Regions from separate parts of the Homo sapiens genome. Here region 1 is linked to region 2. Evidence: promoter capture Hi-C in 16 types of primary human blood cells and fetal thymus (Javierre and others, 2016). All regions are on one chromosome and are shown on one strand. The core of a region is centred on a gene start or on the middle of the fragment in contact, and the rest is flanking DNA. Distances in the headings are between cores, read along the strand shown. Region 1 overlaps YPEL1 (yippee like 1). Region 2 holds the start of MAPK1 (mitogen-activated protein kinase 1).

Region 1 (3,929 bases), core at 266-2,765, 150 kb after region 2:
AGTAAGGAAAGGACCAGCAGCTAATAGAAAATGTGACAAAGATTTGAAAAGGAGGAATCATAAAAGGTGCCCACCTGTATGGTCAGGTTGAAGCAAATTAAAGCCACAATGAGATGCTGCTGCCTTATACCTGCCAGGCAGCAGAAGTGTTAAAATTTGACCATATCAAGTTGGCGGGATAAAGATCAGCAGGGACTCATGTTCGCTGCTGGCAGGATGACCTTGTCACCGGCACTTGGGAGGTGCTGCTGTGTGCACGGGCATCTGCTCCTGGGATTGTTCCAACGAAACACCTGCCTGTGCGGCTCAGGAGAGGTGACAGCGACAGCAGCACCATTTAGTAGCCAGCCTGGGAGCCGATACACATCCACACCCCGTCAGTGGCTGCATGCAGTGTATCTGACGGGACACCAGGTGAAGGGGGCCCAGCTGCACATGGGGACAGAGGCAGACTTGGCTGCACGTCAGCAGAGAAGTCTCACAGCATCGTCGGTGTCAAGTTCAAAACACGGAACACGCAGCAGTGTGGCTCAGGGCCACACACGGGGCACAGCCATCAGGACAAGCAAAGACCAAGAAGCACCAAGTCCAAGTTAGGCAGCATCTCAGGCCGGGGCACCAAGGAAGGGCACAGCAGCGCCGTGGTGACCGGGTCCCAGTACCATCCTGGGTGGCCGCCACCGGCCGTTTGTGTCTTCCGTTCACACGATTACAAACGCTGCGTTCTGCCCACACACATCTTCAGTCCCAGATGTGAGAAGGTGACCCTCTAATGCAGGCGTGCCTGCGCAGGTGGGGGGCAGACGCCGTCCTGGGTGTCATCCCATGGAAGGGCACAGGACAGGCTGCTGCCGGAGCAGAGGTCACATGGGGTGGGGGGCGGTGGGGGGTGCATCTCAGGAGGAGCAGGTGTGAGGACACTGCTGGCGCTTGGCTCTTCTTCCCAGCCCCGTGCTCTCGAATTTGGGGAAACCCTTGCTCTTCTGTTTGGCCTGAAAGAAAATCCGGTGTGCCTGACTCTCTGCAGGCCCCTTGTCACAGGCCAGGCTGGGGTGGTGCCACCAGGAAAACTTGGCGCACGTCCTGTTGCTGATGATGGCAGCATCAGTCATGGACTTAACCTTCTTTTGTTAATGAGACCTTAGAAATGTAAAAATGATACACTCTTCTTTAAAATAATTGTAGTCAGTACACATAACTCTTACCATCTTAACCATTTCTAAGTGTACAGTTCAGTGACATTAAATATATTCACATTTTTGTACAGCCATCGCCACCCTCCAACCTCCAGAATTCTTCATGTTGCAAAACTGAAACACTGCACCCATGAAGCGGGGACTCCCCTGCCCCTGGCAGCTCTTTCTGTCTCTGAGTCCCACTACTCTAAGTACCTCATACAATATTTGTCCTTTGTGACTGGCTTACTTCACTGAGCATAGTGTCCTCAGGGTTCCTCCATGCTGTAGCTGTGACAGGAGCCCCCTCCTGTTAAAGGCTGGATAACATTCCACTGTATGCAGACGCCACATTTTGATCATGAGAATGCCCGTTTGTGGAGGGACACACTGTTGCTTCCCCCTCGTGGCTGTTGTGGATAATGTCGCTGTGAGCATGGGTGTGCAGACATGGCTTTGAGACCCTGTTTTCAGTTCTCGTGGATTTATACCCAGCAGTGGAATTGCTGGAGCCCATGGTAATTCTATATTTCGTTTTTTGAGGAATTACCATACTGTTTCCCATAGTGCCTCCAGCATTTTACATTTTTACCCTCAATGCACAAGGCTCCAATTCCTCCACATCCTCACCAACGCTTATTTTCCGTGTGTGCGCGTTGATAGTAGCCGTCCTAGAGGGTGTGTGGTGGTGTCTCAACGTGGTCCTTGTCTGCCTCCCTCAGGATCAGTGACATGGAGCACCTTTTCACGTGCTTGTGGGCCATCTGTATATCTTCTTCGGAGAAATGTTTATATAAGTCCTTTGTCCATTTTTAATCAGATTGGGGTTGTTTTGTTGAGTTGTAGGAGTTTCTTAAATATATTCTAATAACTATATAGAATATAGATATATAGGTCCTTTGTCCATTTTTTAATCAGATTGTGTTTCTTTTTGCTGAGTTTTTTTTAACATATTCTAACAACTAGAATATATAGAGAATATAGATACATAGGTCCTTTATCCATTTTCCTTTTTTTTTTTTTTTTGAGATGTAGTCTCACTCTGTCGCCCAGGCTGGAGTGCAGTGATATGGTCTCGGCTCACTGCAACCGCTGCCTCCTGGGTTCAAGCAATTCTGCTGCCTCGGCCTCCCAAGTAGCTGGGACTACAAGCACCCGCCACCACGCCCGGCTAATTTTTTGTATTTTTAGTAGAGACGGGGTTTCGCCATGTTGACTAGGGTGGTCTCGATCTCCTGACCTAGTGATCCACCTTCTTCGGCCTCCCATAATGCTGGGATTACAGGCGTGAGCCACCACGCCGGGCCCATACCCGGCCCTTTATCCATTTTTTAACCTGTTTGTTTGATTTGCTGAGTTGTAGTTGTTTTTTTTTTTTTTTTTTACATATTCCAATAACTAGGATATATAGAGAATATGGATATATAGAGAATATGTATAGAGAGAATATAGAATATATGTATTCTAGATATTAACACCTTATCAGGTATATGATTTAAAAATATTTTCCCTCATTCTCTGGGTTGCCTCTGTTGATAGTATCCTTTGAAGCACAAAAGTTTTTATTTATTTATTTAGAGACAGGGTTTCACTCTGTTGCTCAGGCTGGAGTGCAGTTGGACGATCTCAGCTCACTTGAGCCTCAACTTCCCAGGCTCAAGCCATCCTCCCACCTCAGCTATCCCAAGTAGCTGGGACCACAGGCACAGGGACCACACCCAGCTAATTTTGTGTATTTTTAGTTGAGATGAGGTATTGCTTTGTTGCCCAGGCTGGTTTTGAGTTCCTGGGCTCAAGTGGTCCACCCACCTCAGCCTCCCAAAGTGCTGGGACCACAGGCGTGAGCACTGCACCGAGCCAGAAGTTTTGAATTTTTACGAAGTCTAATGTGTCTGTTTTTCTTTTGCTGCCCATGCTTTTGGTATCGTATCCAAGAGATGATTGCCACATCCAATGTCATGAAGCTTTTCCCCTGTGTTTCCTTCTAAGAGTTTTATAGTCTTAGCTCTCACATTTAGGTCTTTTATTTTGAGTTAATTTGTATACGGTGTTAGGTAAGAGTCCAACTTTATATTTTTGCAGGTGGATATCCAGTTGTTGTGACACCATTTGTTGAAAGACTGTCCTTTCCCCATTGAATGGTCTTGACACCCTGTTGAAGATCATGTGACCATACATAAGGGTTTATTTCAGGACTGGAATTTCTTAAAGATTAAATAATACTGGATCCATCACTCACATTCCTCAATGTCCTGGTGCTCTGCGTGGTGAATTCCCGGATTCGGGGTGGGGTGCATCCAGCCCTGCCACCGGGCCCACTCACCGGGCGTCTTGGTTCTGCCTCTCCTTTCATGTTTCCAAAGCCAAACCTGGTATAAGAAGAATTTGAATCAATGTTTTTCTCAAATTATTTGCATGTAAAAGGAGTTCATTTTTTCACTTCCAACTAAATGTAAAGTGGTTAAGCAGTGGCATGGTGTCAGTGTTCATTTTGTCTACAATTGATACTAAAGAGTTGGATCTTGGTCAGGCGCAGTGGTGCTTGTAATCCCAGCACTTTGGGAGGCCAGGCTTGGTGGCGTGTTCCTGTAATCCCAGCTACTCAGAGGCTGAGGTAGAAGAATCGCTTGAACCCAGGAGGAGGAGGTTGCAGCGAGCTGAGATTGCGCCACTGCACTCCAGCCTGGGCAACAGAGTGAGACTCCATCTCAAAAAAAAAAAAAAATTCTAGTCCTGCCACCCCCCCACCCCGCG
Region 2 (4,037 bases), core at 1,538-4,037:
ACCTAAGGAAACTTTTCTCCTATTGTAATTTTGATTATTCGCTCTAACCGATTTGCTCTGTCTTCCTGTGGGGATGCCTAGAGTTAGAATCCCTAGATGCTGTCCATCCCCATTATCTTCTCTTACAGGATTCCATCACTTTGTTCTATATTCTTGAAAATTTTCTCATGTTTATCTTCTATATTGCTGATGTACTCTTCTGCATCAAGTCTACTTTTTTTTTTTTTTTTTTTGAGACGGAGTCTTGCTCTGTCACCCAGGTTGGAGTGCAGTGGCGTGACCTCGGCTCACTGCAAGCTCCGCCTCCCGGGTTGACGCCATTCTCCTGTCTCAGCCTCCGGAGTAGGTGGGACTACAGGCACTCGCCACCACGCCCGGCTAATTTTTTTTTTTTTTTTTTTTGTATTTTTAGTAGAGACGAGGTTTCACCATGTTAGCCAGGATGGTCTCGATCTCCTGACCTTGTGATCCGCCCATCTCGGCCTCCCAAAGTGCTGGGATTACAAGCGTGAGCCACCGCACCCGGCCTCTTTTTTTTTTTTTTTTTTGAGACGGAGTCTCACTCTGTGGCCCAGGCTGGAGTGCAGTGGCGCGATCTCAGCTCACTGTAACCTCTGCCTCCCGAGTTCAAGCAATTCTCCTGCCTCAGCCTCCCGAGTAGCTGGGACTACAGGCACACCGGCAGGCCCAGCTAATTTTTTGTATCTTAGTAGAGACGGGGTTTCACCATGTTGCCCAGGCTGGTCCCCAGTTTCTGAGCTTGGGCAATCTGCCCTCCTCCGCCTCCCAAAGTGCTGGGATTACAGGCGTGAGCCACCGCGCCCGGCCGGTTATTGTGGTTTTAATTTCATGGTACTCCATTTATCTTGGCCTGTTTTTTAAAAAAATATGCAATGTCCTCTTTTGAGAATAAGAATTAGGTATTTTCTTTTTATTATTATTATTATACTTTAAGTTTTAGGGTACATGTGCACAATGTGCTGGTTAGTTACATATGTATACATGTGCCATGCTGGTGTGCTGCACCCATTAACTCAAGAATTAGGTATTTTCTAAAATTGGGTCCTGCTTCATGGGCTAAATATATTTTGAAGGAGTAAATTTTGGCTGGAGCAGTTTATTCCTTTTCTCATGTGTCACATCCTTTTTCCCCCACAGGATTTTTTGTTTGTTTGTTTCTCTGTTTTAGAGACAGGGTATTGCTGTGTTGCCCAGGCTAGTCTTGAATTCTTGGGCCCAAGTTGGGATTACAGGCGTGAGCCACCACACCAGCTTCCACCAGAGAGTTAAACAAACAAACAAACAAAAAACTTTGTTTATTCTCCTTTGAGATTGACTAATTAATCTTTGTTGATGTCTAGAAGTCAAGAGTTGATGGTTTTAAACTTGGAAGAGTTGAACAAAGAGGATATAGGGTCTGCCGCTCTTCCTTCTCCCTCCAAACATGGCAGGGGAAAAGGTTCAGAAGCAGTGCCTGGGTCATTGTCCGTCTCGTTGTCTTAGCTTTCCTTGGTATCCACCTGCTTCAGGACTCTAATTTTTATTTTTTCAACCTCTGTTGTTTGTGACTGTTTCTTAACCTGGTGTGTCTCTTTTTCTCTAAACCTCGATGTTTTGGTTTTAGTGACTCTATCTTTGCATTTCTATTTCATTACCTGCTCTGTCAGCATTTCTGCCTATCTGTACCAATCTCGGTCTGTCTCTGAACGCAAATGTATCTCTCATGTGTTTCGACCCACCACCCCCTAATCCCTTACTCTCTGCTTTGTCCTCCTGCCTCAGCCTCCCAAGTAGCTGGGATGACAGGCGCCCACCACTGCGCCCGGCTAATTTTTGTATTTTTAGTAGAGACAGGGTTTCGCCATGTTGGCCAGGCTGGTCTTGAACTCCTGACCTCGTGATCCGCCCGCCTCGGCCTCCCAAAGTGCTAGGATTACAGGCGTGAGCCACCTCGCCCGGACTTAATTTTTGTATTTTTAGTAGAGACCTGGTCTCAAACTCCTGACCTCAAGTGATCCGCCCGCCTCGGCCTCCCAAAGTGCTGGGATGATAGGCGTGAGACACCGCGCCCTCCCTTCTGCTTTGTACTTCTTCATCGTACTTATCACAACTTGAGCATTACACGTATTTGTCTGTCTCCTCTCTCTAAAAGGTAACTTCTATAAGGGTGGATCCCCAGGAACATGGAGTGTGCTCAACAAACATCTGAACTAACCTGATTGGCGTATCCTCTCAGTGTCTCCTTTTAGTCTCGACAATTGTGTTTCACACTTTCTCAGTATGCAAATATCTTTCTCGGTCTGGGTCATGCCTTTCGGTTTCTGCCCCAGTGCAGAGGCCTCTAAGTTTATCAGCGTGTGGACCACAGATTCGCAGAGGCCTGAGCTGCGGCGCTGCCGGGATATGGCGCGTCGTCGGGCCTCAAGCACAGCCCGGGGTCCCTCGCTGGCTCTGTTCGGACCCTGCTCGGTCGCTCGCCTGGGCCCCAGCCATCTCTCACTTCAGCCCATGAGTTCTGCCCCACGTCTGTCTCCCTGGGTGTCTTAAGAGACGCGACCCGCACCGACGCCCCCGCGAATGCACCGCGAATGCACGTGACCGCGCCTAGTGGCGCCCCCTCAGTCAACGCCGTCGCAGTGCCCCTCCCGAAGCCCGCCGCTTCCGCCGGCCCGCGCGGCCCCGCCCCCAGCCGCGAGGAACCAATCCGCATGCACACTTCTTGTCCCCGCCCCGGCACCCTCCTCGGCGCGCGCCCCTCCCTCCGCCCGCCCGCCGGCCCGCCCGTCAGTCTGGCAGGCAGGCAGGCAATCGGTCCGAGTGGCTGTCGGCTCTTCAGCTCTCCCGCTCGGCGTCTTCCTTCCTCCTCCCGGTCAGCGTCGGCGGCTGCACCGGCGGCGGCGCAGTCCCTGCGGGAGGGGCGACAAGAGCTGAGCGGCGGCCGCCGAGCGTCGAGCTCAGCGCGGCGGAGGCGGCGGCGGCCCGGCAGCCAACATGGCGGCGGCGGCGGCGGCGGGCGCGGGCCCGGAGATGGTCCGCGGGCAGGTGTTCGACGTGGGGCCGCGCTACACCAACCTCTCGTACATCGGCGAGGGCGCCTACGGCATGGTGTGGTGAGTGTCCGCGACCGGCCACGCCCGGCCCCCCCACCGCCCGGGGCCGCAGCGGACGCAGCCTCGGCCTCGCCCGCGCCTCGGCCTCAGGCGCCGCGGCGACCTCGAACCCGGACTTCACCGCGGTCCGCGCGCCAGGGCTCGGGCGCGGCCCCGGGCCGGTTGAGGTTTAGGTGTTGTTGCTCGCGGTTCCCGGGCCTTCGGTCGCTCGGGAAGGGGCTCAGGGAGTGGCGCGGGGGGCGTAGGCCGGTACTAGTGGACCCTTGGCCCCGGGCGCAGCGCGGCCTTTAAAGTCTGGACCCTCGGGAAGGCAACGGAAGGGTCCCCACCCCTCAATTTGCTAGTATCATGGCCTTCTTTTGGACTTTCGATTGTAAAACTGTGAATTCCATCAGATGCTTGTCGGTGTTGGCGGCGGTGGCTGCTGAGGTCCTGAAAGCGTTTTGCCTCCGCGTGTGTGCAGAACACCGAAATAATCGTTTTTCTCTCTTCGCCTCTGTTTGCAGCCAACGGCTTTCATTAAATATCCTCAGCGGTGCTAATGGTGGTCTCCGCGCAGGCTTTCTAAAATGGATTACTGACGCCAGTGTTGGTGGCATATTTCCGTCTTGAAGTTTTTACTTCTAAGTGGATTTTAATATCGTACTGCTGGCGTTTCAGGAAGGATAAACTAACATTACTCTCTTGATTTGTTAAAGATCCGTTTAGAGTTGGGCCTAATTTGACTTTTTTTTTAGCCCCCAAGTGAGCTCTTTTACCAGCATAAATGCTCCCAGATGTTTTAGCCCAATTGCTATGGACTCCTGTTAATGATTTAGTGGTCATTATGTATGCAGCCTTAATGGAGTTCTTGCAGAATCACACGTAGACTCCCTCATCTTGATTCAGGTCCCTTAGAAAAGTGAAATGATAGTGACGGTTTTTTTT

Evidence for each region. Contacts are between HindIII fragments. The CHiCAGO score rates a contact against its expected background, and 5 or more counts as called.
Region 1: a contact is called between a fragment that was not itself captured here and the fragment with the promoter of MAPK1 in region 2, in 3 of 17 cell types (M0 macrophages, endothelial precursors and M2 macrophages). The highest score is 6.2, in M0 macrophages.

Annotation. Positions count from the first base shown.
Region 1 is chr22:21,710,998-21,714,926 of GRCh38, reverse strand. All of the region lies in intron 1 of YPEL1 (yippee like 1), which reads left to right. Among named protein-coding and RNA genes, the nearest start is that of YPEL1, 23 kb to the left of the region's middle. RefSeq lists a silencer at 900-1,058 and enhancers at 1,267-1,316, 3,685-3,929. The HindIII fragment of the contact is 3,252 bases long and covers 1-3,141 here.
Region 2 is chr22:21,866,395-21,870,431 of GRCh38, reverse strand. MAPK1 (mitogen-activated protein kinase 1) reads left to right here and starts at 2,787. Exons shown (of 9, transcript NM_002745.5): 1 at 2,787-3,110. The coding sequence starts at 2,992. RefSeq lists a silencer at 2,617-2,856. The HindIII fragment of the contact is 41,836 bases long and covers 1-4,037 here.